Linked DNA regions of Homo sapiens: regions 2, 3, 4, 5 and 6 are each linked to region 1. Evidence: promoter capture Hi-C in 16 types of primary human blood cells and fetal thymus (Javierre and others, 2016). All regions are on one chromosome and are shown on one strand. Each heading gives the region's core, a stretch centred on a gene start or on the middle of the fragment in contact. The rest is flanking DNA. Distances are from core to core; before and after follow the strand shown.

Region 1 (5,029 bases), core at 2,131-4,630:
TCAATAAAAAAAAAAAAAAACAAAACCCAGGCTAAAATTATCACTATGATTGATCATTATCTGAACTGCTCAGATTCCAGACAGTCAATGCCAAAGGAATACTCTGTACAACGAATTACGTGATTCCTACTTGTCTAGAACTATTTATAGGAGATAAACAAGACCTTGTTGAGAAACACTAAGACCTACATCCACTGAGAGGCTCATGTTATTAGAAGAGTCCCCCATTGTCTCTTGGCCTTTTGGCTCAGATCAAGTGTAGAAGAGTTTCCAAATTTCTACTCAAAAAATTATACGTACCATGCAATTTCATCAAAATTCCAAGAGATGTTTGGGTGGAACCAAGCTAATTCAACAATTGACACGAAAATACAAAGAAACACAAATAGCCAAGACACTCTTGAGGAAAAAGAAGGTAAGTGTACTTGCTCCAAATACAAAGTTACAGTGAGTAAGACAGTATGTTATTACTGCGAGGAGTGACAAATAGACCAGTGGAACAGAATCCAGAAATAGACATAGACATATATGTTCACTTGATTTTTTTACTAAAATGGCACTGCATATCAGTGCAGAAAATATGAACTTTCCAATAAATGATACTATAATAACTGGATACACACTCGGGAGAAAAATGAAATTCAATCCTACCCTATAAAAATTCCAGGTGGTGTAAAGACCTAAACATTAAAGCCTACCCTAGAAAGCTTTCGGCTTGGCCAGGTGCGGTGGCTTATGCCTGTAATCCCAGCACTTTGGAAGGCTGAGGTAGGCAGATCACCTAGTTCCAGGCCAGCCTGACCAACATGGAGAAACCCTGTCTCTACTAAAAATACAAAATTAGCCAGGTATGGTGGTGCATGCCTGTAATCCCAGCTACTTGGGAGGCTGAGGCAGGACAATCACTTGAACCCAAGAGGCGGAGGTTGTGGTGAGCCGAGATCATGCCATTGCACTCCAGCCTGGGCAATAAGAGCGAAACTTCGAGTCAAAAAAAAAAAAAAAAAAAAGAAAGAAAGAAAGCAAGCTTTTGGCTTTAAGACCAAAGAAAATCTTCATTATCTTGAGGTAGACAAAAATTTCTTAAACAAGACTAACCATAGGAAATGATTTTATTACAATGAAATCCAGAACTTCTATTTGTCAAAAGGCACCACATAGAGTGAAAAGTCAAACCAGAGCAGGTGAAAATACTTATCACACATACAACTGAAAAAAGATTAATTTACAGAAGATATATACACATATGTACAACTGCCGTAAATCAGAGAAAAACCCAATTAAAAATTGGTCAAATATTTGAACAACACCTTATAAAAGGGGACATTCAACTGCACTCCAGCCTGGGCAATAGAGACTCAGTCTCAAAAAAAAAAAACAAAAAAAACAAAAAAGGGGACATTCAAATGGCCAAGAATCAATGCTCAACTTTATTAGCAATAAAGGAAATTTAAATTAAATATAACATTAGACACCCACCAGATTGGCAAAAATTTAAGAGTTTTATGATGTCTAGCATGGATGTGGAGCTAAGAAAACTCTTGTAAACTGCTGGCATAAGTACAGTATCTTTAGAGAACAGTTTGGCAATGTTTGGTAAAACTGAAGATGTACAAACCCTACCTATTAGCACTTTTTTTTTTTTTTTTTGAGATGGAGTCTCACTCTGTCACCAGGCTGGAGGGCAGTGGCACAATCTTGGCTCACTGCAACCTCTGCCTCCCGGGTTCAAGCGATTCTCCTCAGCCTCCCAAGTAGCTGGGACTACAGGCGCGTGCCACCACGCCCAGCTAATTTTTGTGTTTTTAGTAGAGACGGGGTTTCCTCATGTTGGCCAGGATGATCTTGATCTCTTGACCTCGTGATCCGCCCGCCTTGGCCCCCCAAAGTGCTGGGATTACAGGCATGAGCCACTGCATCCAGCCACTATCAGCAATTTAATCACTAGGTATATATTCTAAAGAAATGCAAGCAAATGTGTACCAAAATATGCGCACAAAATGATCATAGTCACACTGCCTGTAGTAGCCAAAAATTACAAGACAAATGTCCATCAAGAGTAGAAGGATAAGGCCGGGCACAGCAGCTCACGCCTGTAATTCTGTCTCAAAAAAAAAAAAAAAAAAAGAAAGAAAGAAAAAAAAAAGAAAAAGAAAAATTAAAACCATCTGACAAATCAGTAAGGGAAAATCAGGTGTGGGAGGTGGGGTTTGAAGACACCACATTTTCTCAAAATGGAAACTCCAGGGATCAGGTCATCTCATAGGCAAGAATTTTCAAGAGAAGGAAAGCAACTATGTCCTGACAAAGAAAAAGGGATTTTTCTTAAACAAGAGGACAGGACAAGCTACCTTGCAGGTGCCTTGTGGATGTTCAACAGCCATTCTTTACTCCTGTTCGGAGGCCTCTATCCAAGCAGGGCAGGGCTGAGGAAGGAGAAAGCAGTCAGGAAACATCAGGTTCTTCTGAGAGGGAGTTGGTTTGACTATGTCAGAAGTTATCTTTGCTCAGCCCCTACTGCCCATCACCTACAGAGGAAGGTCAGAGAAGTCTAGGGCATCCTGCTTAATCCGGGCATCACAGACAACGGTAGGGTCAATGCCGTTCTGGGCAGAACCTGTCCCTGAGCTCACAGGGGTCTCCAATGGCTGAAGTCACAAAGACAAAGACTCCCCATACCTACATTGGCTATACGGACACATAGTCACACAAACTCACTCACACCGCAGGGACATAAACGTCACAGGCACCCCAAACCTAAACACAACACACAATCACACACTCATACACACCACGGGGGTAGACACGGACACAACCACAGAGTCCGTGGGCATCTCTCAAATTCCCAGTGACATACACCTTGGGGTCACAATGACAACAAATTCACACGCACCCTCCATCAACAATATCACCAACGCGCGCGCACACACACACACGGAAGCAGCCACAAACCTCAAAATTAAGGCATACTACACACAGTTCGGCAAATGGTAGTAAACACACACACACACACCCCAAGGGGACATACAGTCACAACCGCGGTCCAGGAACCTCACACTCGCAAACACAGTGCCCAACCCGGTCACAATTAAACTCTACTCACACCCGCACAAACATAAACAAAAAGTCCTCCTCCCCGCCCTCACAGTTCCATACACGGTCGCACAGACACACGCCCCCAGTCACAACCGTACACACTCCTCACAATCGCTCCTTAGCCTGTTCCCCACGCAGCCCACACAGGTCGGGAGTTCCTGTCGCGCCAGGCTCCGAGCCGCCTCACTTACGCCTGTTCGGATAGGGTCAGCTCCGTTCTACTAGAATCCACACAAGTCGACCCTAGCTATCTCACAAAGCCCCAAGGCCGCTTGCCCAAATCCGCGGGAAGATCCCGCCCACTCCTCAAGAGACAATCTAGTTATCGCGGGAGAGTGCCCTGGGCCTAGAGGCTTCTGGGAAGTGTAGTCCAGAAAGCGACAGGTTGCCGAAAGCTACAGCCCAGCCATCCCGATTCCCCTGGCGCGGACTCTGGCACCAACAAAACTATCTCTTTGAGGTGAGCTGCCCATCGGAGCCTTCCGGGAGTCTCACCTGACAAGGAGTCCCTAGACCAAGCTTTAGTCAGGCTCCTCTGAGCCCTTTTTGCTTGGCCAGGCCTCCTCCATAGCCTGCGAACAGCACTTCAGCAAGAATCCAGCTAAGCCAGTTTAGTAACAATCCCCCCACTCTTGATACTTAACTTCCTCTTAGTAATTTAGCATCCTTTAACTCCTTCACCCAGCCCGTTAGCTATAAATCTCCAGCTGCTGTTGTATTGGAAGTTGACTATTGCAATAGTCTTTAACCAAGTCCTTCTTGCCTGTTTAAGTCCTCTGGGGCAAGCTTTCTTTCACCCCGCCCAGCCTCAGAGGGCGGCTCCCGGGCTTCCGCCCCTCCTCGGGAGACATACTGGACCGCAGGGTCTCCTGGGAAACGTAGTCCAAGCCTCGCCGGGGATAGATGGGCCCAACTAAAGTGTGCTGCGTTCTCTGGGTCCTGAGGCGGCAGTCTGGCCGCAGTGACCAGACTAACTGTGCCCCGGAGGCTGCTTGGAATTCCACTTAACGCTGGAAGCACGCAGACGCTCTTGAGGCGGGCAGCTGCGTAGCGTGTGGAGGAGCCGGGAGAGCGCACCCCAATGTGGCACCTGAGCGTCTGGGACCGAACCAGCATGGGGAGTCGGAAGGGGACAAATCCGCGATCCCAGTCATGCATGTGAGACTGGGCAAAGGAAGGCTCGAGTGTGTGTGAGACCGCGGTGGGCCTGCTTGTGCTGGTGGGATGAGGGGTGTCTGGGTAGTTGAGTGAAAGAAACCGCGTGCGGGTCAGATTGGTGTGTGTGTGAGAGAAGTGAGGTCAAGATGTGTGCAGCTTTGGGCGTGGGGAGGTCATATTGAGTGTGTGGAGGTGGGGGGGGCAAGATCGTGTATGGATCTGTGTATGAGTGTGTGTAATCACCTGAATGTGGGTCACTGCGTGGGTAGCTGATACTATGACTGTGGAGGAATCTGAACCTCCAAGTCTCATTTTCTCTTTAAATTGTGATAACAAGGTTGTATCTTCCTGGTGCAGCAGTTTTAAAGGGGGGAAGCTCCATTACTGATATAATAAAATAGCATTTTTTATGTAAACATTTAACATTCAGACATTTCTTCTGAACTAGAGTACAAAATCAGTTATGAGTACTCCAAGTAGTTTAAAAAAGAAACCCGTCATAATAGATGCATATGGGGAAGATAAATAGTGAAAGGGGAACTTCCTTTTCACTATACTCTTGTTAAATTTTTAAAATCAATGTGAGGACTCATTTGAAAACAAATATAAAATTAAAAAACTGACAGAAAGGGGAGCTAGGAGGAAATCAATAATTTTTTAAGCTAGAAACTTTGGGAGGTGGTAGAGGTTGCCGAAATATGATGGCAGGAAGTGTATGACAACAGGAAATGCTGATGTAAAATATAATCCTGAAGCTTTTAACAATGGCAGGAAG
Region 2 (4,480 bases), core at 1-2,500, about 21 Mb before region 1:
TCTCTGAAGCTTCATTGGCTCAGCCACGTTACCATTTCGCAGGGCGGATTCTGGGTAATGTAGTTCCCAGACATGGGCAGCGCTTAAGGTGGCTTTCTTCCGACTTTCCGAAGAAAGGGGCAAGCTCCACTGCGAGGGGCGCTAGGAAATGGCGACTCCAGGTCCAGATGCGGAGGAGGGTCTCCCATCTTAGAAGAGGCCATACGCACATTTCTGGGGGTACTGTGTGCAACTGATTGCCCGCGTGTTTGGAGACTTCTTATTTCAGAATTTGTGATGCTCGGCTTCTTCCTTTTTTTTTTTTTTTTGTCTTTTTTTTAAGACATAGTTCTCTCTGTCACTCAGGCTGGGGTGCAGTGGTGTGATCTTGGCTCACTGCAGCCTATGCCTCCCGGGTTCAAGCGATTCTCGTGCCTCAACCATCCGAGTAGCTGGGATTACAGGCGTGTGCCACCATACCCTGCTAATTTTTGTATTTTTAGTAGAGACGGGGTTTCCTCATTTTGGCCAGGCTGGTCTCGAACTTCTGGCCTCAAGTGATCTGCCTGCAATGGTCTACCGAAGTGCTAGGATTACAGGCGTGAACCACCGTTCTCAGCCCATTAGCAACACTTTTATTTATATCTTTAACCTACAGATTCCTCTAGAAATCTGATATCAACATCAAAAAGCTAATGAGACAAATGCTATTATGTTACAGGACAATGGCTGCGGTGTTCAAACATGGAGTATGTATGCATGAGAGAAGAGAGAGACCCTCTCACATTGTTTTATATTCAGTAAAAACAACAAGGAAGTAAAACCAAAGACAGGCAACCCCGCGCCAGGCCCGAAACCAGGCCTAGGCCCGCCTGGCCTAAACCCAGTAGTTAAAAATCAACTTATGATTTAGAAGCCGATGTTATTCATAGATTCCTTAGATTGTATAGAAGAACATTGTGAAACTCCCTGCCCTGTTCTGTTCCTCCCTGACCACCGGTGCATGCAGCCCCTGTCACATACCCCTTGCTTGCTCAAATCAATCACGACCCTTTCATGTGAAATCTTTAGTGTTGTGAGCCCTTAAAAGGGACAGAAATTGTGCACTCCGGGAGCTCAGATTTTGAGACAGTAGCTGGCCAATGCTCCCAGCTGAATAAAGCCCTTCCTTCTGCAACTCGGTGTCTGAGAGGTTTTGTCTGCGGCTCGTCCTGCTACATGCACAGGGTGCTTTTACACTGAGATATTTCAAGTGCCTTAAATCCATGCGTTCACCTCTTTGCTGGCAAGTGCTTATCATTGTCAGTGGCATTGGAATCAGAGTGACTCCATCTTGAAAATGGGCTGGATAAAGTAAGGCTGAGAAATACTCGGCTGCATTCCCAGGTTAGGCATTCTTAGTCACAGGATGAGATAGGAGGTTGGCACAAGATGCAGGTCACAAAGACCCTGCTGATAAAACAGGATGCAGTAAAGAAGCTGGCTAAAACGCACCAAAACCAAGATGGTGATGAAAGTGACCTGTGGTCATCCTCACTGCTCATTATACGCTAATTATAATGCATTAGCATACTAACTCCCGCCAGCGCCATGACAGTATACCAATGCCCTGGCAATGTTTGGAAGTTACCCTATATAGTCTAAAAAGGGGAGGGAACCTCAGTTCTGGGAAATCTCCACCTCTTTTTTTTTTTTTTTTTTTGAGATGGAGTCTCGCTCTGTCACCCAGGCTGGAGTGCATTGCTGCGATCTCGGCTCACTGCAACCTCCGCCTCTTGGCCAAGTTCAAGTGATTTTCCTGTCTCAGCCCCCCGAGCAGCTGGGATTATAGGCGCCTGCCACCGCGCCCAACCTGTAAAATTTTCTATACTTAAAAAAAAAGTTGGCTGGGCGCGGTGGCTCACACCTGTAATCCCAGCACTTTGGGAGGCCGAGGCGGGCGGATCACGAGGTCAGGAGATCGAGACCATCCTGGCTAATATGATGAAACCCCGTCTCTACTAAAAATACAAAAAAATTAGCTGGGCGTGGTGGCAGGCGCCTGTAGTCCCAGCTACTCCGGAGCCTGAGGCAGGAGAATGGCTTGAACCCGGGAGGCGGAGGTTGCAGTGAGCCGAGATCACGCCACTGCACTCCAGGCTGGGGGACAGAGCGAGACTCCGTCTCAAACAAACAAACAAACAAACAAACAAAAAAGTTGGCCGGGTGCGGTGGCTCATGCCTGTAATCCCAGGACTTTGGGAGGCAGAGGTGGGCGGATCACGAGGTCAGGAATTCGAGACCAGCCTCACCAACATAGTGAAACCCCGTCTCTACTGAAAATAGAAAAATTAGCTGGGTGTGGTGGCGCATGCCTGTAATCCCAGCTACTCAGGAGGCTGAGGCAGGAGAATCACTTGAACCCAGGAGGCGGAGGCTGCAGTGAGCCAAGATCGCGCCACTGCACTCCAGCCGGGGTGACAGAGGACAGAGTGAGGCTCCGTTTCAAAAAAAAAAAAAAAAAAAAGCTTTCTTGGATTATGCTTTGTATAAATTAAATTGGATATTTAGTGTAAACTTTATTCAGTAATGGAGGTGAGGGTTTCCAGTAGTATTTCTTTCCCCAAACAATCATTTTCTCAGATTTCCCGTGAGTTGGCTCATAAACATGTTGTACCATAAGAAATTGAAATCTCAAAGGCAAGATGGGTCTCCTGTTGGGTCCACACCAAAATTTGTAAATGGGGGAAAAGCATTACCGCTTTGTTAGCCATATCTACTTTTTCTTATCTGAAGCCTCTTTTTGAATCCCTTGGAGTTCCTGTTCAATGGCACTTATTTTGAATGTAGTGACTTTTATAGTTTCATGTGATATTGGTGTCAAGAGAGTCTTTTTGCTGCTGCATCTGCGAAATAATTTTTTTTTACTCTTTGGAGAGGTGAGTTTGAATGTTCAGGAACGTTAATAAAACATTCTTTTTTGATAATCGGATGGCTTCTAAATGATCAGAAACTTGAGAGCCATGTTTAATTAGATATCTGGGGGAGGTTAAGTAACCTCACTGGCCAGGCACAGTGGCTCATGCCTGTAATCCTAGCACTTTGGGGGACAGTGGGGGGGTGGGGGGTGGGGGGGCGGATCATGAGGTCAGGAGTTCGAGACCAGCCTGACCAACATGGTGAAAACCTGTCTCTACTAAAAATACAAAAATTGGCCAGGCATGGTGGCTCATGCCTTTAATCCCAGCACTTTGGGAGGCCGAGGTGGGCAGATCATGAGGTCGGGAGATAGAGACCACGGTGAAACCCCGTCTGTACTAAAAATACAAAAAATTAGCTGGGCGCCGTGGCGGGTGCCTGTAGTCCCAGCTACTCGGGAGGCTGAGGCAGGAGAATGGCGTGAACCCGGGAGGCGGAGCTTGCAGTGAGCCGAGTTTGCGCCACTGCACTCCAGCCAGAGCGAGACTCCATCTAAAAAATAAATAAATAAATAAATTAGCCGGGGGTGGTGGCGAGCGCCTGTAATCCCAGCTACTCGGGAGGCTGAGGCAGGAGAATTGCTTGAACCCGGGAGGAGGAGGTTGCAGTGAGCCAAGATTGCACCACTACACTCCAGCCTGGGCAACAGAGCAAGCCTCTGTATCAAAAAAAAAAAGCCTGATTCCATAACATCCCAAGGTCATGAGCTACACCAATAGCATAATACCTTTAAGTATAAATATTATCCATTTGATTTTTGGCCAGTTGACAAACTGGTGAGTGCTGTTAATTCAGCTAGCTGTGCTGATTTTACTTGAGGCAAGTGATGGCTTTTTTTTTTTTTTGCTTTTTTTTTTGAGACAGAGTCTCCCTCTGTTGCCCAGGCTGGAGTGCAGTGGCGCAGTCTAGGCTCACTGCAACCTCTGCCTCCCAGGTTCAAGCGATTCTCCTGCCTCAGCCTCCCAAGTAACTGGGACTACAGGCGCCTGCCACCACACCCGGCTAATGTTTGTATTTTTAGTAGAGACGGGGTTTCACCATATTGGCCAGGCTGGTCTTGAACTCCTGAACTTGTGATCCGCCCGCCTCAGCCTCCCAAAGTGCTGGGATTACAGGCATGAGCCACCGCACCCGGTGGGATTGCTCTTTCTGATGTCCACAAGAGACACAAGGTTGTAGCCTGCTCAGTATTTTCAAAATGTATCCTTTAGATCCGATCCATCTGTGAACCAGATAATATCAACATTTTTACATGATGTGTCCTATAAATCCTGTCTGGACACCAATTCTGTGAGTAGAATACAGTGATGAAATATTTCATCTGTTGTTTCAGGAAGTTGCACTGCAGGATTAAGAGTATTACAGATAGAGAGGGCAGCATATGAAGCAGACAGTGTAAGTTTGTCATAAGAAACCAATCTATTAATGGAAAATTGCTGTGTATTATGTGAATTCAAAAGAGCTTCTATAGAATGAGGAGCCTCCATTACAATTTTCTGAGTAATCGTAAGGAGCATGGCAGTGGCAAAAATGGCCCTCAGAC
Region 3 (5,028 bases), core at 1,394-3,893, about 21 Mb before region 1:
ACCTACAAGAATATACACTTGTGGCCAGGCGCAGTGGCTCACGCCTGTCATCCCAGCACTTTGGGAGGCTGAGGTGGGTGGATCACCTGAGGTCAGGAGTTTGAGACCAGCCTGGCCAACAAGGTGAAACCCTGTCTCTACTAAAAATACAAAAATTAGCCGGGTGTGGTGGTGTGCGCATGTAATCCCAGCTACTCTGGAGGCTGAGGCAGGAGATTCACTTGAACCTGGAAGGTGGAGGTTGCAGTGAGCTGAGATCTTGTCACTGCACTCCAGCCTGGGGGACAGAGTGAGACTCAGTCTCAAAAAATACAAAAAAGAATATACACTTGTGCCAGCACAGTACTTAGCACTAAGGATTTCTCTTTGCCACTGAATGGAAAAAACACCCTTGTTATTATTAATGATGTTATGCTTTATTGTTAACTTTATTACTAGATTATTACTTTTACTCATCTCTTCTTGCATACTCTTCTATTCTTCTGATATTTGTGTCTGTATTAGTGCCTATTTGAGCCCATCTGCTTAATATGGTACATTTTAGTATCTAATAAAGGGTGCCTGACTTTTTTTTTTGAGACGAGAGTATAGCTGTCACCCAGGCTGGAGTGCAGTGGCACGATCTCAGCTCACTGCAACCTCCGCCTCCAGGATTCAGGCAATTCTCCTGCCTCAGCCTCCGGAGTAGCTAGGATTATAGGCACCCGCCACCACCCCCGGCTAATTTTTGTATTTTTAGTAGAGACAGGTTTCACAATGTTTGCCAGGCTGGTCTTGAATTCCTGACCTCAAGTGATCCACCTGCCTCGGCCTCCCAAAGTGCTGGGATTACAGTTGTGAGCCACCGCGTCCGGTCTCCGACTGTTCTTTTAACCAGATACTGTTGGACTTTTCTCCATATGATCTTTAAGTTGTTTTATTCTGTGAGCTGGGGGCGGGGGGAGTCTTTGAATTGGAATTGCTATACTTTTGTTTAGTAGTTTTGTGAAGATTTTTTTTTTTTTTTTGAGACCGAGTACTAGGATTGCAGGCATGAGCCACTGTGCCCAGCCAATTTTTATATTTTTAGAGATGGGGTTTCACCATGTTGGCCAGGCTCATCTTGAACTCCTGACCTCAGGTGATCCCCCCAGCCCGGCTTCCCAAAGAGTTGGAATTACAGGCATGAGCCACTGTGCCTGGTCTGATACGGCCTTCATGGAGAAATTAAAAAAATACTTTCCATTCAGGAATAATATGTCAGTGTGTTCTGAACTTAACTTCAGGTCTGTTAATGAGGTTTTTGTATTTTCTTCATGAAGATCCTTTATTGCTTTTGCTAATTGATTTCCAAGTTGCTCCAACCATCACTATTGTGAGTGACAATTTAATCACTATTATGGCTTAGAATTTTTTTTCTAATTTTCATTTCAAAATTGTGAAGTATTTCAACCTGCGGAGAGGTTCGGAGAGTAATAGAATAATCTATAAATAATAAAGATGACACCCATGTATCATCGAGATTTTACCTGTGTTAACATGTAGTCAGATTTTCAGGTTTTGATTTGTTTTTTCCTATCAAGCATCACAGGTGTAACTGAGGTCTCCTTTGTCTCCTCCCCAACTCTTTCCCCTCAGTTGCCACTTTCTTGAGGTTGGACAATCTATCTGGTCCATGTTATTGTTACTTTACTACTTATGTATCAATCTCTGTATAACATATAGATTTTGTGTCTTTTATTTCCAGGTAAGTTGTATCATGTGGATAAGTGCACAGTTTACTTTTCGAACTGTTTTTGGAGAACTGTCTATCTTGTATATAAGTTAGTCCTTTTTTTTTTTTTTTTTTTTGAGACGAAGTCTCCCTCTTGTCCCCCAGGCTGGAGTGTGATGGTACGATCTCAGCTCACTGCAACCTCCGCCTCCCAGGTTCAAGTGATTCTCTTGCCTCAGCCTCCCGAGGAGCTGGGATTACAGGCGCCTGCCACCACGCCTAGCTAATTTTTGTATTTTTAGTGGAGACGGGGTTTCACCATGTTGGCCAGGCTGGTCTCAAACTCCTGACCTTAGGTGAGCCCAGTCCGTTTGTTTTAACCACCCCCTATTGCTCCGTTGCACATACCACAGTTTCTCTCTTCCCTGTCAGTAAATATTTAGGCTTCCCCATGCTAAAGTTTAAGAGAACCACTGAAAGAATGAAAATGTGTAGTTTTCATTTTCAACCGGCTATTGTTACTACAGAGGAAAGTTACTGGCTTTGTTTACATTTCTTAGATCTAGTCATTTTAACAAATTAGGCCTCCCAAAATGCTGGGATTACAGGCGTGAGCCACGCACCCAGTAAATAATTATATTGCCAATGAATAATGAGTGTACTTATTCTGAATTTTAACATTATTATCTCAAAAAAAGATTATAGATAAAGAAATATTTTAGGAAATTATGCAGTAAATAAAAGGAAGGCTCTATAACAAAAGAATGATAGCATCGGGTTAAAAATCAGAGGAGACCATAGGAGAAAGTAAATGCCTGCGCGTCCGCCCCGAGGCAAGTCCACGCCAGGGTAATGAATAACCCGGTACCCGCGGCCGCCCCAGCGTTGGGCGGGGGAAGCTCGGGGACTCCGCGCACGCGCACATCCTTGTCCCGGCAGCCGCGCAAGCGCAATCGCCCGGAACATGGCTGCCGCCGGCCGCCAACCGTAAGTGCCGACGCATCCCTGAGCCCTGCGCTGCCTCCGTTTCCTGCGGAGGGAAGTCTTGGCGGGTGGAGGTCCGCCGGGTCCTTGTGGGGCGGCGAGGGGCGCGTCCGCGGGTGGGTTTCACCTGGGTGGTGGGCATGTCGGGCCCGCTAGGGCGAGGGTCTGGCCAGGGGCGTAGTTCTCCTGGTGGGTGGGGACGCTCCGTGGCGATTGGGGTCACTCCTCTGAGGACGAGGTCGCTCCGGGGCTGGTCTGGACGCCCCCGCTCTTTCCTTAGCGTCACCCGTGAGTTCCGCGCTCGCATCTCTAGCCCGCCCTCCCATAGAGACTGTTTTGCCACGCCTGCTGGGTGTCCTGGTCCGTCTCCGGGGGTAACCCCCGAGTCTGCAGCTTTTCTGTCAGGTGTGAGGGGCAGTGTAGGCTTGGGTCGGCCTCCGGCTGAATTGGCGGCCGTGAGCCAGTGGGCTGAGCCGCTTCCCCTTGAGTCTCGAAGGTGTTAGATCACCTGTGTGTTTTTCCATTTGATATTTGCAAAATCATGTTTTACTGCAATTCTCAGTGAGGGCCGCATTTTTGCACGTGTTTAGTGACCATTTTGCTGTCTTTTCCCTTGGTTTAGTGGCATATTTCCTTTGTGCAGTCTTCCAGTCTCAATATTTTATGACATAAAATGTTGGTTTAGATAGAGAAGCTGAAAGACTTGTGCAGTGAACGACCCGGTTAACGTCTGCTGAACTTACTGTATCCCTTATCTTTCCTTCTGTCCATCCTTTCAGCCATTCATTAATCCACCTATTTTTGGAAACATTTCAAAGTAAGTTGCAGATATCACAACACTTCTCCCTCAAACACCTCACTATGCTTACCATGAATTAGAGTTCAGTAGTGCTTTTTTAAATTTTTTGAGCCAAAATTGACTTTCAGTGAAATGCACAGATATTCCCTGTACCATTGATGAATTTTGACAAATGCAACCTAAACCTTTATTAAAATTACCATCAGCCTGAAAAGGTCCTTTATTTTTTGCCAAGTTAAAAAATTTGGCTATAGGAACTTGGGCTTGTTGAAGTACGTTTTGAATACCCAGTTTTTGTCTGTTTTTTCTTTTTTCCCACAGCAAGTGACTTTCCTCCATTCTACTGCTTGTTTACCTCTCTCTTCACCCAACTTTTCATTTTGAAAAGTTCCGCATTTGCATAGAAGTTGCAGGAATAGTTTAACACTTCTAAAACCATCCAGATTCTAAAATTATTAACACTTTTTGCCACATTAGCTTTATCTTTATCTTCTCCCTGCCTGAGACACATGCATAGGTGTTACCAGAAAGGGGGTCCCGAGCTATAACCCAACAGAGGGTTCTTATATCTTGGGAAAGAAAATTCAGGGCGAGTCCATAGAGTAAAGTGAAAGCAAGCTTATTAAGAAAGTAAAGGAATAAAAAAATGGCTACTCCATAGATAGAGCAGCCCCAAGAACTGCTGGTCGCCCATTTTTATGGTTATTTCTTGATTATATGCTAAACAAGGGGTGGATTATTCATGCCTACCATTTTTAGGCCATATAGGGTAACTTCCTGATGTTTCCATGACATTTGTAAACTGTCATGGTGCTAGTGGGAGCAGGACCAGAGGTCACTCTCGTTGCCATCTTGGTTTTGGTGGGTTTTAGCCACCTTTACTGCAAGCTGTTTTATCAACAAGGTCTTTATGACCTGTATCTTGTGCAAATCTCCTGTGTTATCCTATGACCTAGAATGCCTTAACTGTCTGGAAATGCAGCCCAGTAGGTTTCAGCCTTATTTTACCCAGTCCCCATTTAAGATGGAGGTTTGCTTTGGTTCAAACGCCTCTGACATAGGGTTTTCTTTTTATATTTTACACACACTTGTACACACAGCAGGTGTTGCAGAGGCAGGTGTGATACAGACATATATTTACATACACTTAGTTTTTTTGGCTGAGTTACTGGAAGTATGTTATAGATATCATACCTCACTCTGAAATACTTCAGCCAGGATCTCATAAGAAAAGTAACGTTCTTATTTTTTAATTTTGTATTTTTTATAGAGATGAGATCTCACTATGTTGCCCAGACTGTTCTTGAACTCCTGGTCTTAAGCAGTCCTCCTGCCTTGGCCTCCCAAAGTGGTGGGATTACAGGTGTGAGCCACCACACCCAGCCAAAAAGAACATTTGAACATTTAAACAAAACTAGTGTTATTATCACACCCAAGTATACTTTTTTTTTTTCAAAAAACTAATTGTTTTTTATTTGTAATTTTTTTTTCCTGCCAATCTGAACCTGGAAAAGAAGAAACAGGGAAATTTTTTACCTTCCTCTCTTTTTTT
Region 4 (4,378 bases), core at 1,729-4,228, about 21 Mb before region 1:
GGTGCTGTTATCCCCTTTGTCTTTTTTTATTGCATCTATTTGATTCTTCTCTCTTTTCTTCTTTATTAGTCGTGCTAGTGGTCTATCAATTTTGTTGATCTTTTCAAAAAACCAGCTCCTGGATTCATTGATTTTTTGAAGGGTTTTTTGTGTCTCTATTTCCTTCAGTTCTGCTCTGATCTTAGTTATTTCTTGCCTTCTGCTAGCTTTTGAATGTGTTTGCTCTTGCTTCTCTAGTTCTTTTAATTGGATGTTAGGGTGTCAATTTTAGATCTTTCCTGCTTTCTCTGGTGGGCATTTAGTGCTATAAATTTCCCTCTACACACTGCTTTGGACGTGTCCCAGGATTGTGGTATGTTGTGTCTTTGTTATCGTTGGTTTCAAAGAACATCTTTATTTCTGCCTTCATTTCGTTATGTACCTAGTAGTCATTCAGGAGCAGGTTGTTCAGTTTCCATGTAGTTAAGTGGTTTTGAATGAGTTTCTTAATCCTGAGTTCTAGTTTGATTGCACTGTGGTCTGAGAGACAGTTTGTTATAATTTCTGTTCTTTTACATTTGCGGAGGAGTGCTTTACTTCCAACTATGTGGTCAATTTTGGAATAGGTGTAGTGTGGTGCTGAAAAAAAATGTATATTCTGTTGATTTGGGGTGGAGAGTTCTGTAGATGTCTATTAGGTCCGCTTGGTGCAGAGCTGAGTTCAATTCCTCGATATCCTTGTTAACTTTCTGTCTTGTTGATCCGTCTAATGTTGACAGTGGGGTGTTAAAGTCTCCCATTATTATTGTGTGGGAGTTTAAGTCTCTTTGTAGGTCACTAAGGACTCGCTTTATGAATCTGGGTGCTCCCGTATTGGGTGCATATATATTTAGGATAGTTAGTTCTTCTTGTTGAATTGATCCCTTTACCATTATGTAATGGCCTTCTTTGTCTCTTTTGATCTTTGTTGGTTTAAAGTCTGTTTTATCCGAGAGTAGTATTGCAACCCCTGCCTTTTTTTGTTTTCCATTTGCTTGGTAGATCTTCCTCCATCCCTTTATTTTGAGCCTATGTGTGTCTCTGCATGTGAGATGGGTTTCCTGAATACAGCACACAGATGGGTCTTGACTGTTTATCCAATTTGCCAGTCTGTGCCTTTTAATTGGAGCATTGAGCCCATTTACATTTAAGGTTAGTATTGTTATGTGTGAATTTGATCCTGTCATTATGATGTTAGCTGGTTATTTTGCTCATTAGTTGATGCAGTTTCTTCCTAGCCTTGATGGTCTTTACAATTTGGCATGTTTTTGCAGTGGCTGGTACCAGTTGTTCCTTTCCATGTTTAGTGCTTCCTTCAGGAGCTCTTTTAGGGCAGGCCTGGTGGTGACAAAATCTCTCAGCATTTGCTTGTCTGTAAAGTATTTTATTTCTCCTTCACTTATGAAGCTTAGTTTGGCTGGATATGAAATTCCGGGTTGAAAATTCTTTTCTTTAAGACTGTTGCCTTCTTTAGAATATTTATTTAGGGTATTGTGACAAAGTCAAAAGGTGATGCAGGACAAAAATCATTATATGCAGGACATGTCCTGTATGTATAGGAATCTTGGAAATTTTATTAGTGATGTCTTTCATGCTACTAACACATTTGAAAAACACCTACTGAGAGCTCGTATGTGTTCCTTGGATGTGTATTTTAACAGTGAATTATCAAGACAGCACAACTTCACTGTTGATTTTTACCATTCTGATATCTTCTTTACAATTGCTCAGCATTTTCAGGAAAAAAGAGTCACATTTTGTTGACAAAGTGTGGTCAAGATCACAACACAACCATATGCTTAACTTCATTCTTTCACTTATACTTTAGTATTCAGGCTCAAACTTTACTGAGATCTTAACTTTGTCCATCTATCACAGATATTTCCTTAGAGCAATTTCTTTCATTATCTTCAAATAACTACGGAATCATTATTAATAGCTGTCAGGATTTTTCCCCCGGGGATAATCTCACCTCCTAACACAGACACCATACTTACAATGACAATGACAGGTTAAATGGTAATTGCACTGTGTTTTGCTGTGATGGAGACATCACTGATTACCCAGGCAGGAAGAGTTTTCTGAAGAAATCTGTCCACTGGTTTCAGGGAGACTCCACATCATCCCTCTTCCTTCTTCCACTCCAAGGCCTTGTTTGGAATATTTTCTCTTCCGTCTCTGACCAAACTGAAGCTCACAAAAGTTACTGTAAAGCTTGAGTGCACACATATTTAAAAAGCAACAAGGTAATAGTTATTAGCTTCTAGCTGTGAGTGTACGCAAAGAGACATTGTGGTGTGGTGTATCTATTTAGTTTTGCAGCTTTGGGGAACATCTGAAATGTCTCAACATTTCTGCGATCGGTGCATACTACACTCCAGGGAATCTAGGTCCAGGCCTTTTAAGAGGACAGAAGTCAGCCGGGCACCATGGCTCACTCCTGTAATCCCAGCACTTTGGGAGGCCGAAGCAGGCAAATCACAAAGTCAGGAGTTCGAGACCAGCCTGGCCAACATGGTGAAATCCCGTACTCTGCTAAAAGTACTAAAATTAGCCTGGCGTGGTGGCGGGCCCCTGTAGTCCCAATTACTTGGGAGGCTGAGGCAGGAGAATCGCTTGAACCCGGGAGGCGGAGGTTGCAGTCAGCCGAGATCGCGCCACTGCACTGCAGCCTGGGAGACAGAGCGAGACTCTGTCTCAAAAAAAAAAAAAAAAAAAAAAAAGAGGACGGAAGTCCTGTCAGCCCTTTGAAACTCGGGTTACTTTTCCCAAACAACTTGGCCCTCCTACTTCGAGTTTTCCCAAGAGCCCAGGCCGAGAATCCCCTGCCTTGAAGGATAGCTCAGTGGGAACCACACTCTACCCACAAACCTATACGTTGCATACCCAATGAGGGCCCAGGAGAGGGGTGTTTCAGTGCCTGCGGGGGGTGCGTGGGCGGGACTTCCGGCTCCTCCTTGTAGCGGACATTTTGTTTCTGTCAGGCTGTCCCTGGCCGGGGTTCTGTAACGCTTGTGTGGGCCGCAGGTGGAGGTGTTGGGAAAGCGCGGAGGAGATGTTGTCCCCAGTGTCCCGAGACGCGTCTGATGCTCTGCAGGGACGGAAGTGCCTGCGTCCCCGATCGAGACGCCTGCCGCTCCCGGCAGCTGTCCGCGCCCACGGTCCTATGGCGGAGCTAACGGACTCCGCGCGGGTGGGTGCTGCGTCCTCCGGGCCCTCAGTCACCCTTTCTCCGACTCCGAATCGTAAAGTGCCTGCAGCCCCTGTGTCCCAGGACAGCGACGCACTCTTGGGGCGGGGTCCTATCTCGGTGTGGGTGGGTGTGGGAGAGTTACGGGCGGAGGGGACGGCGCAGGTAAAGGCTCGGGGGTGCTGCTGACCCCCAAACATTTGGGAGACAGGGTTCTCATCAACACAGAGCAGAGTTTGAGGAACTGTGACTGGAATGGCAGGCTGAGAAGTTGTCGCTTCATTCTGAGGGCGTTGAGATTAACTGAGGGTTTTGAATAGAAGGACGTGATCTTAGCTGGGATTTTAAGTGTCTCGAAATTTGCTCAGGGGAGAACATTAGTTTGGGGTGGGGACTGCGAGGATGGATACGAGGAGACCGGTAAGGAGGCTACTGCAGTGGATTCCAGGAATGCTTTGGTGGTGGATGTACCAAGAGTAATGGCAGGTGAGTGGGTAGAAGTGATCATATTCTGGGTAGGTTTTAAATTTGAAACCAACAGGATTTTCTGCTCCATCATATGCAGCTATGACTGAAAGTAAGGCATGAAAGAGCAAGGTGTTTTTGTTGTTTTTCCATGAACGTTTGGATTTTGGAATGGTGACTTTGAGATGTCTCAGAGTGGAGGCTTCCTCACTTAGGCAACTAGAGAGGAAGGTCTGAAGTTGTGGGGAAGGGGCTGGGCTTAGAATATCTTTGGGGTGAAGGGAGCGGTCTGGAGTAGGTCAAGGCCAGGAGGTCAGATTTAAGTGGGGCAGTCTTAAGTATGTTATTTCATATCTCTGGGGTAAGAGATGAGAAGGCTGGGACTGCAGGGCAGGGAAGAGGGAGTGGGCATTCTTGAGACTCCCCCCAGAAGAGAAGGGTCCTGCCATTTGAAAGGGTTCTTTTCAGTGTTTGCAGGAGGAGAGAGCTGTAGGGTATGAGGAGTTTGGCCTGGGATGGCAACGATGGGTGGTGTGCTATTGCTACTATCTGATTATCTCACCCTCATTTTGTGTGTTTTCTTTTAGTTTTAGTTTATTTATTTTTTTTATTTTTTTTGAGACGAAGTCTCACTCTGTCGCCCAGGGTGGGATGCAGTGGCTTATTGCAACCTCTACCTCCCGGGTTCAAGAGATTCTCCCGCCT
Region 5 (4,827 bases), core at 1-2,500, about 20 Mb before region 1:
GAGGAATCCTGTGGCTGTCTTGGCTTCCGGCCTGCCCAGGAGGCTTCCCCGAACTAGCAGAAAAGCAGCAAGGCCGAAACCTTGTCCACTCACCTGCGCCGGGTCCGTCAAAGCCATCGCCATACCGGGACCCTGTGGCCCTAGCGGGGCGGGGGCTGCGGCGAGCAGGGCGGGTCTCGCGGGCTCAGCCGAGCCCCACCCCTTCCCTGCGCCGGGCCCGGTGACCTTGGCTGACAGTCAAACTCTCTCGTTACGGGGAGGCTCACGGTTCGCTCCGAGACGCGGAGGTCGCTGTCGGCCTCCTACCTGCTCATTTCCCCAGCGCCGCCAGGGAGGCGGCCACGGAACACCGCCCCCTCCCTAGAGCCGGCGTGGACGGAACCGTCGCTCCCAAATTACGTCCCATCCAAATGCCGGAAGTCCCGCCCCAAGCTTCGCAACCCACAGGAAACGCCCCTGTCCTGGACCATCATTGGCCCCAGGGCCCGCCGTCGCACCTGGCAATGCCTTGTAGTTAATGTAGTTTTTCTCTACAAACCACCTGCAAAGGGGACAGATCCTGAGCCGGCAGGCCTCGGTGTAAAAGTCGCAGCGGGCCTACAGCCCGGCTCAGACCTGCCTCTGTCCTGGGGGCACAACTCGGAGGCCAGGGACCAAGCGCGAGACCGTCCATTCTTGGCCGGAGGAAATCGAGCCCCAGGAGTCAGGGACATTTGCCAGGGTCAGGGCCAGTGCAGAGACCCTGGACCAGGCTCCGGACTCTGACTTCCACCTTGCATTATTTCCCCTCCGGATCCTCTTATACAGATCAGCGGGCAGTCAGAGTAACCAAAGGGGGACGTCGGGCGGCGCGATGCCTCAGGCCTGGGATCCCAGCGCATTGGGAGGCCAAGGGGGGCGGATCGCTTGAGCCCAGGAGCTCAAGACCAGCTTGAGCAACATAGGGAGACTACCAAAAAAAAAAAAAATTTTTTTAAAATAAGCTGAGTGTGCTGGCGCACACCTGTGGTCCCAGAAGTCTGTGGCAGGAGGATCGCTTGAGGACAGGAGTTTGAGAACAGTCTGGGCGACAGAGCGAGACCTCATTGGTACCAAAAAAAAAAAAAAAAGAAAAAGAAAAGAAAAAAAATAGAGCGCGGTGGCTCACGCCTGTAATCCCAGCACTTTGGGAGGCCGAGGCGGGTAGATCACGAGATCAGGAGATCGAGACCATCCTGGCTAACACGATGAAACCCCGTCTTTACTAAAAATGCAAAAAATTAGCCGGGCGTGGTGGCTGGCGCCTGTAGTCCCAGCTACTCGGGAGGCTGAGGCAGGAGAATGATGTGAACCCGGGAGGCGGAACTTGCAGTGAGCCGAGATCGCGCCACTGCACTCCAGCCTGGGCGACAGAGTGAGACTCCGTCTCTCTCTCTCTCTCTCTCTCTACTTATATATACATATATTTATATATACATATATACATATATACGTATATATACATATGTATATATACGTATATATATGCACATATATATTTATATATATATTTATATATATATTTTTTGAGACAGGGTCTCGCTCTGTTGCTCAGGCCATAGTGCAGTGGCGCGATCACAGCTCACTGCAGCCTCAAACTCCAGGGTTCAAGTGATCCTCCCACCTCAGCCACCCAAGTAGCTGGGACTGCAGGCACGCACCACCACGCCCAGCAAATTGAGGGTTTTTTTGTTTTGTTTTGTAGTTTTTGTAGTCAGTTTCACCATGCTGCCCAGGCTGGTCTTGAACTCCTGTGCTCAAGTGATCCACTCACCTTGGCCTCCCAAAGTGCTGGGATTACAGGCATGAGCCACAGCATCCAGCCTACTCAAAAAAAATTTTTAATTAGCTGAGCATTGTGGCACACCCCTGTAATTCCAGTTACTCAGGAGGCTGAGATGGGAGGATCTCTTGAGCCCAGGAGGTCGAGGCTGCAATGACCTGTAATTGCACCACTGCACTCCAGTCTGGGCAATAGAGCAAGACCCTGTCCAGCTGGGACATGTTGCAAATGCATTGTCTCTCTTGGGCCTTCTTTGGCCAAGCTTGGTCTTCACATGGTCCAGCAACTTTTGCTTTAGGTATTGGCTGAGAGCCCTGGTAGAGTAGATTTGACATTCCTTAACGTGGGGAGTCTTGGACTGGGTGAGCTCATGACTCCAACTTTAAGCATGATCAGTTTGAAATGTCTGTATGACCACAGAGTGTCTGTGTCACAGCAGTTCAATCTCTGACTGAATATTGGGAGAGAAGTTGTGCCTGGACATAAAAATCTGGAAGTTTTTGGCAAACACTGTTATTTCAAGTTATGATACTGGACAAGACCATGAAAAAAAATGAGCATAGATGGAGAAAGGAATGGAAAGAGGTGAACATTGTTAAACAAAAATTACAGGAGGCCATTGTTTTGGAGCTCCTACAGCAGGCCTCACTGACCAAATCAAAATGGCGTCTCTCATACTAAATGTCATCTAATCAAACTGAAGTTTTAAGGAAGCAGACAGATCCCAGTTTTTCCTAAAAGCAGATTTCAGTCTACCTGAATTAGTGAAATTAGGAAGTCCCCTCTGCTTTAACCCTTAGAAAAAGTAATCTGTTAACCAATCAGCTTTTTTTTCTATTGTTCTATTTTATTGTTCCCACCTTACAAAACCCACTGTTCTGCCATTGCCCAGTGGGAACTCTAATTTCTATTGTGTAGAACAGAGATTGCCTCAATTCATGAATCACAAACAAAAGTCAATTAGATCTAAAACTAAATTTGTTGTAATTTTGGCCTTTTGACAACCCTGAACTAACTGGTTGCAAACAAGAAAGCAACAAAGTCATGTTAGGGTCATAACAATCTTTTAAGAATTATACAGGCCGAGTGCAGTGGCTCACGGCTGTAATCCCAACACTTTGGGAGGTAAAGGCGGGTGGATCAGCTGAGGCCAGGTGTTTGAGACCAGCCTGGCCAACATGGTGAAACCCCGTCTCTACTAAAAATACAAAAATTAGCTGGGCATGGTGGCGGGTTCCTGTAATCCCAGCTACTTGGGAGGCTGAGGCAGGAGACTCGCTTGAATCTGGGAGGCGGAGACGGCAGTGGGCCGAGATCGGGCCAGAGAGCAAGATTCCGTCTCAAAAAAAAAAAATCATATTATACAAAACCTTTGTAGTCTCCGTTGGTGACTGTTTTTTTTCTTCTCATGACTATGAAGGTTAGAGAATAAAATCCAGCTTTCAATGATTTGACAATACATATGGTTATGAAAATGGAAACAAGGTGTGCAGAAAATGCCCTCCAGAGATTTGAAAGTGGAGAAAGTATCATGACAGGATGTTAACTGGGTGGAAATGTAGATGGAATCAATTTTCTAGAAGGTATTATTTGTAAAATGAGATTATTGAGAAATGTTGCTTAATTAGCGTGCAAGCTGTTGACACTGTTACTCATCATTGACAATACTAATTTGCCCAATTTAGAAGAGAGGAATAATTCTCCTTTCCATATGTGTATGACCCGTAGGGTTAAATTAGTTTTCGCTTTGGATGCAGAACAGATATTAAAGTTAGTATATTTATATTCCATCATGGAATGTCTGGAATCAGTGCTGCTGAAGAAAGCTATGTAGATATTGGTGACAATTTTTTTTTTTTGAGACAGAGTCTCACTTTGTTGCCCAGGCTGGAGTACAGTGGCGCAATGTCGGCTCCCTGCAACCTCCACCTCCCAGGTTCAAGTGATTCTCGTGCCTCAGCCTCGCAAGTAGCTGGGATTACAGCCACCATGGCCAGCTAATTTTTGTATTTTTCAGTCAAGACAGGTTTTTACCATGTTGGTCAGGCTGGTCTCGAACTCCTGACCTCACATGTTTATCTGCCTGCCTCAGCCTCCCAAATTGCTGGGATTACAGGTGTGAGCCACTACGCCCGGCCTGGGGACACTTTCAAATCCCTCATGTAAAGCATGACAGAGTTTTCATTATTTAAACATATATCATCTGGTGATCAGTGCTGAGGCCCTAGTGATTTTTCTATCCTTACCTGCCAAAAATGTGCCCAGTGATGTGTTTATCCAGCACCTAAAATGTGTAAGAGTTTATATGTGTGAACCAGTTAATTTATTAGGAATTGCCAAGTGTTTAAAATGTTAATTCAGGAAAACTGATAGGATGAAGCAAAGCATATAGAGGTAAGCACTGTGTCTCCCCATGCAGGTAAAAGAAAGAAAAAACAAAAAAGAGGTAAATACTGAAAGTGCAGGTTAAAAACCATGAACCAATGTCTTGGAGTATTTAACTTATAGATCTGCAATAGTGGGAGCTTTTCATCCAAGTGAAGTGGCTGAGTTATTTATGCTTACGTAGTGGGTCTGGTCATAGCAGAAATCATGCCTGCAACTGCTGGATATTTCACAATGAGGAGACTTTGTAGAATATAATGATAGGAGTAACATTAACAAGGCAAACTCCATATAAAGTGCTTAACAACTAAAGTTAGGAGAAATACTGGTGTAACTGACTGCATTGATCAAAAAACATTTGAGCTTACAGCTGAGGAGTCTAGATGCTTACTGTGGTAGTCAGTTTATAATGGGTGCAGGGAGCAGCTGCCACATGAAGCTGTCACAGAAGGTTACAGAAGGCTGGAAGGCCACTCCCCAAATTGCAGCATGCAGTAATTTCAGAAGAGGTGATATTACATTTATTATGAGGAATGACTTATTCTAATGTCATCAGAGTGCAACACAACACAGAGGTGCTAGTGTATTCACTTAAGAAGTGGGTTGCACTGACGTGCAGTGAAACATTTTATTTCTGAGAC
Region 6 (4,933 bases), core at 340-2,839, about 21 Mb before region 1:
TACAAAAATTAGCTGGGTGTCATGGCGTGCGCCTGTAGTCCCAGCTACTTGGGAGGCTGAGGCAAGATAATCGCTTGAACCCAGGAGGTGGAGAGGTTGCAGTGAAACAAGACTGCGTCATTGCACTCCAGCCTGGGCAATAAGAGTGAAACTCCATCTCAAAAAAAAAGAAAAAAAAAAAAGAAGAGATTTCTCACCTATATACCCTGAGTGTCTCTGCAGCCAGCAAAGCAGATGAAGGCCTGCTGGGTTGGAGCCCTAGGCCCTCCAATGCTGAAATGCCCTGTGAAGTCTCCATCCATCCAGGCACTCTAGTAACCTGCTTCTTCTGCCTGGAATTTATTCTAAAAATACCCACATGGCTCATTTCTCACTTCCTTCAAGTGCATTTCACCGGCTTTCTGATTAAGAAGTCCCACCTCTCCCCTTTGTCTCTTATCAAAGTAGCATTTCTTTCATTGTTTTTTGAGATTGATGTTAGACTTCTAGAAGGAATATATCTCAGATATCAAGTAAGAATTATGAAATGGATAAAAGCGTTGCTCAGTGAATTGGACACAGTTATTGACTGGACACAGTAATTGGACACAATAATTGACTATGCAGGCAAAAGATGTTTTCTGTTGGAATCAGACAGAATTCTACCTTTGTACTACTGTTTCAAGGTGATCTAACATTTCTCTTCTATCTTCTAGAAGCACTATCATGCCACTATCTGAAGTAGTTTTTCACCTGTCCCTGACCAAAAGTGCACAGACTGACTTCAATGCTTCGGAGTGCATACATTTGAAATGTAATATGATAGAGGCTGGGTACGGTGGCTTACGCCTGTAATCCCAGCACTTTGAGAGGCCGAGGCGGGCAGATCACCTGGGGCCAGGAATTTGGGACCACCATAGTGAAACCCTGTCTCTACTGAAAATACAAAAAATTAGCCTGGCGTGGTGGCGCGCGCCTATAGTCCCAGCTACTTGGAAGGTTGAGGCACGAGAATCGATTAACCCGGGAGGCGGAGGTTGCAGTGATCCCAGATGGCGCCGCTGCACTCCAGCCTGGGGGACAGAGGGAAACTTTGTCTTAAAAAAAAAAAAAAAGGAATAAACTTATATGGTAATGTTTATTAGCTTCCCTACTAGTGGATATATTTCGTGTCTGAATGGCTCTATGGAATGATGTACATATTTGGATTGGCAGCCTTAGGGAGCGTCTGATAATAATTTTAGCCTCTGGGAGCCTGCTGAACTTTATGAAGTTTGAAATAATATTCCCCAAACACTTGGGTGATCAGTTGCAGATGGCACCTCTAATATGCTGTCTGATTACGACCCATTTAAGAAAGGGCGAAGTCCCTCCACTGCCCTAGGACTTGGATAAGCCATTTCTCATCGCCCAGCGCCCTGGAGCTTCGCTTTTACTCCAAGAGGTTGGTGCAAAGGGTCCCCGGCACCCACCTCGGGATCTATGAAAACTACATTACCTAGAATGCTCTGCGTTGAACGCCACGCTACTAAGCCAGTAAGAGCTCAGAAAACCGACTTTCCTTGAGAGTCACAAAAAGAAAGGACGGGACTTTTGGGGGGGCCTCTTCGTGGCGGCCATTTTAGCTTCTCTGAGGTGTGTTCACCGGATCAGAGATAGCAGAGCGCCGAGTTGGGGCCACGAAGGCGTGAGGGGAGTCGTCGTCCCTCCTGCACGAAAGCGTCTAAGCCTTGGCGACGCCGCCCTGGGGGACCCACGTCAGGCCTGGGATAGGGACCGCTGTCCCCGGGTCCCTACCAATGTCGCCCGTCGCTCCCGGCCCAGCTCTACCCGCAGAGTCTGATGGCAGCGGCCACTCTGAGGACGCCAACTCAGGTGAGTGCGGCGTCTTCCCGTCCTCACACACCTTCCCCCACCCACGTTCTAAAGCCATCAGTGAGGGGCGCCTGCTCGAGTCCCCGCTGCCCAGGGTCGGGGACACTGAGGCGTTCGTGGGTGGGGCCCTTTTTTTGACACTGCGTGTGACGAGGTGTGGGAGAGCGTGACAGGCGGAGGAACCGGCGCGTGCAAAGGTTGAGGCGCGACTGAGCCAGGAGAATTCGGAAAGCTGTTTTCTGCAGGGAACGAAGAATATGAGGCGGAGTTACTCCTAGGGTTGTACTGTCATTGTGAGGATGCTAGAAGCCACGGAGAGTTCTGAACAAAGGAGGGACGCCATTTATGTTAGTTTTTTTTTCTTTGAGACGGAGTTTCGCTCTTATCGCCCAGGCTGGAGTGCAATGACGCGATCTCGGGTCACTGCAACCTCCGACTCCCGGGTTCAAGCGATTCTCCTGCCTCAGCCTCCCCAGCAGCTGGGATTACAAGCCTGCAGCTGGGATTACAACGTCCGGCTAATTTTTTGTATTTTTAGTAGAGACGGGATTTCACCATTTTGGCCAGACTGGTCTGGAACTCCTGACAAGTGATCCTCCTGCCTCGGCCTCCCAAAGTGCTGGGATTACAGGCGTGAGCCACCGTGCCCGCCCTATGTTAGGGTTTAAAAACTTTTCCAAAGACTGTTCACAGGAAGAGCAGCGATGGGGCGATGAGGACATTGAGATAGTGGGAGGCTACATCTTTTTTTCATTGCCCTACAGTTGGCAAGAGGTGACAGCACTGAGACCAGAAAGTAAAACAGCCAGCCTGAGTTCAGGGCCAGGCAGGGCTACAGGGAGGCTTGAGCTCATCTAGCCTCACCAGGGATGCATTCCTCTTTCCCTGGTTCTCCCAGTTGTAGAAGGGCGTATGGAACTCACATAGGGAAGTGGAGAGTGTTCGGTCCCTCAGTAGCCTCTACCCCCATGTTCTTGGGATTGTGGTTTCCTAGTATTCTTAAGTGCTGTTACCCCAATCCTGGGTCTGGTGCCCTGGAGAAATTCCAAGCCCAGGGCTCTTAAGTCCATGCCAGAGGTTACAGGGGTTATACTGAGGTGTTCCCATTTTTGTCAGCCAGTGGAAACTTGTGAAAGGTTATCTCTGGCACTGGTATCAGGAGGCGCAAGTGCTTAGTAAAACTAAGCTGAGATTTTTGAGGAAACCATAGATCTGTTTCCTTTTAGCTGGGAACAAAGAGCAGGGGGAAGGAGTCAGGACTGCAGTGGCTGCCTGAGAAGTTGGGTACCTATTCTGGAGGTAATGAGAGATTTGGGTTACAAGAGGGAGGTGATCTTACCAAAGTCCTAACAGGGTCCATCCCGTTAGCGTGGAGAGCAGACTGTGGGGTTGAGGGAAGAGGAAAGAAGATCAGAGTGGAAGCTACAGCCAGTCCAGGGTAATGGACCAGAGTCATTGATTAGGAGATGTGTTGCATTCTGGATGCAAATTTTTAAAGGGAGCAACTAAATTTTCTGATGTAGACAGCGAGGGAGTGAAACAGGATTCAGCGATGACCCCATGGTTCTTCAACTGAGATGGAGAAGTTGGTATTAACAGTAATATTCACTGGAGACAACAGGAGCTTTATTTGGTCATGTAAGAGTTTGAGATGTTTCAGAGACATTAAGTAGGCATTAAGTAGGTGGCTGAACACCCAGGTCTGGAAATCTGGGGAGTGCTTCAGAATGGAGACATCCAAAATGTGGTGGTCATTGTGTGGACTAAGGTGAGTGAGCTGTGGATTACATTTAGAAGGGTTGTTCTATTTTTTTTTTTTTTTTTTGAGATGGAGTGTCTCTCTTGTTGCCCAGGCCAGAGTGCAATGGCGCGAGCTTGGCTCACCACAACCTCCGCCTCCCGGCTTCAAGCAATTCTCCTGCCTCAGCCTCCCGAGTAGCTGGGATTACAGGCATGCGCCACCACGCCCGGCTAATTTTGTATTTATTTAGTAGAGACAGGGTTTCTCCATGTTGGTCAGGCTAGTCTTGAACTCCCAACCTCAGGTGATCCACCCGCCTCAGCCACCCAGAGTTCTGGGATTACAGGCGTAAGCCACCGCATCCGGCCTACAAGGGTTAATCTTTAGGCATGGTGGTACAGGTTATTTGGCCAGGAAGGGCAGAATGGGGGCTAAGGACCAAGCCTTTTGGTTGGATAAGTGGGTGATATTCTTGGGCTTTCTAAACAGAGGTAAGGGAGGTTAGTGGCTATGGAGGTAGGGTGTTTGGAGAGGATAGTTGGGCAGGTGGCATACACTTTCAAGGGAAGAGTGGATATAAGGTGGATGCAGAGGCATAGGTGTATTTGAGGCAAATGGCTGTCCTTTTTTTCCTTTGTGCTTATTCAGCACTCTGTGGAATCACCAGGATTTTTTGATGACTTTGATGGGGCCTAGGGTGTTTATTCAACCTGGAGGATAAGGCCAGGTGCCAATGTGGTCATCTGTGACAGTCACTTGGCCTGGGGTAGGTGATCAGTGGAGCTAGTCTTTGAGTGTTAAGTGGACAGAGGAAGGTTGTTACTGCTGAGGGGCTAGCAAGTGCAGCACGGAAGTGGAATAGGGCCATGGGTATCTGAGATGCACATGTGGTTCTGTGTGGCCTAAATCTGAGGCAAAGAATGGAGCCAGCCAGGGAGCCCTCATAGGATTTGGGGCTGCTACCACTAGTGGATGCCCTGGGAGATCTAGGGTAGTATTAGATCCGTTTGAATCTGTCGAGCATACTCTGGACGCTGTGTGCTAAGTTATGGTGTAAAGTCTAAAATTAAGGCCCAGTATGACATCTGGTGAAATCAGGGTGGCATCAAATGGCCTGAGTACAAGTTTCCCTCCCTACTCTTCTCCCAAACAGACAACCCTTTTAATCAAGGAGACCAGGCACAATTTCTGCCTATCACTTTGTAGCAGATTTCAGCTCCCTACCAGGTCATGGAGTTTTCCAAACAAGCCCATTGTGGGAACCAGGGGGCAGTTGATCCTTTTGTTCTCAAAGTGCTTGCATCCCACAGTTTTTGGTTATTCACTTTTTTTCTGGAC

What was found. The method cuts DNA at HindIII sites, captures the fragments that hold promoters and counts their contacts. A CHiCAGO score of 5 or more calls a contact.
Region 2: a fragment that was not itself captured here is called in contact with the fragment with the promoter of ZNF345 in region 1 in 2 of 17 cell types (non-activated CD4 T cells and naive CD4 T cells); the score reaches 16.4 in non-activated CD4 T cells.
Region 3: the fragment with the promoter of ZNF329 here is called in contact with the fragment with the promoter of ZNF345 in region 1 in 6 of 17 cell types (non-activated CD4 T cells, total CD8 T cells, total CD4 T cells and 3 more); the score reaches 20.9 in non-activated CD4 T cells.
Region 4: the fragment with the promoter of ZNF671 here is called in contact with the fragment with the promoter of ZNF345 in region 1 in 3 of 17 cell types (non-activated CD4 T cells, naive CD4 T cells and total CD4 T cells); the score reaches 15.4 in non-activated CD4 T cells.
Region 5: a fragment that was not itself captured here is called in contact with the fragment with the promoter of ZNF345 in region 1 in 3 of 17 cell types (naive CD4 T cells, total CD4 T cells and naive CD8 T cells); the score reaches 10.5 in naive CD4 T cells.
Region 6: the fragment with the promoter of ZNF154 here is called in contact with the fragment with the promoter of ZNF345 in region 1 in 2 of 17 cell types (naive CD4 T cells and total CD4 T cells); the score reaches 7.6 in naive CD4 T cells.

Annotation. Positions count from the first base shown.
Region 1 is chr19:36,849,227-36,854,255 of GRCh38, reverse strand. ZNF345 (zinc finger protein 345) reads right to left here and starts at 3,380. Exons shown (of 3, transcript NM_001242472.2): 1 at 3,288-3,380; 2 at 2,352-2,426. It also overlaps a transcript of ZNF790 not described here. RefSeq lists an enhancer at 3,618-3,857. The HindIII fragment of the contact is 2,588 bases long and covers 1,030-3,617 here.
Region 2 is chr19:57,765,125-57,769,604 of GRCh38, reverse strand. No RefSeq gene overlaps it. Among named protein-coding and RNA genes, the nearest start is that of ZNF586, 2.3 kb to the left of the region's middle. RefSeq lists an enhancer at 1-205. The HindIII fragment of the contact is 2,477 bases long and covers 12-2,488 here.
Region 3 is chr19:58,148,404-58,153,431 of GRCh38, reverse strand. ZNF329 (zinc finger protein 329) reads left to right here and starts at 2,643. Exons shown (of 4, transcript NM_024620.4): 1 at 2,643-2,680. RefSeq lists an enhancer at 2,507-2,566. The HindIII fragment of the contact is 7,703 bases long and covers 1-4,096 here.
Region 4 is chr19:57,726,224-57,730,601 of GRCh38, reverse strand. ZNF671 (zinc finger protein 671) reads left to right here and starts at 2,978. Exons shown (of 4, transcript NM_024833.3): 1 at 2,978-3,211. The coding sequence starts at 3,074. RefSeq lists enhancers at 2,632-2,681, 2,822-3,261, 2,779-3,279 and a silencer at 2,600-2,825. The HindIII fragment of the contact is 7,103 bases long and covers 2,235-4,378 here.
Region 5 is chr19:57,236,188-57,241,014 of GRCh38, reverse strand. It overlaps ZNF805 (zinc finger protein 805), which reads right to left and starts at 383. Exons shown (of 4, transcript NM_001023563.4): 1 at 94-383. The coding sequence starts at 123. RefSeq lists a silencer at 86-155 and enhancers at 276-545, 566-785. The HindIII fragment of the contact is 1,631 bases long and covers 435-2,065 here.
Region 6 is chr19:57,705,860-57,710,792 of GRCh38, reverse strand. ZNF154 (zinc finger protein 154) reads left to right here and starts at 1,589. Exons shown (of 3, transcript NM_001085384.3): 1 at 1,589-1,854. The coding sequence starts at 1,822. RefSeq lists enhancers at 1,409-1,468, 1,489-1,618, 1,362-2,001. The HindIII fragment of the contact is 9,236 bases long and covers 1-4,933 here.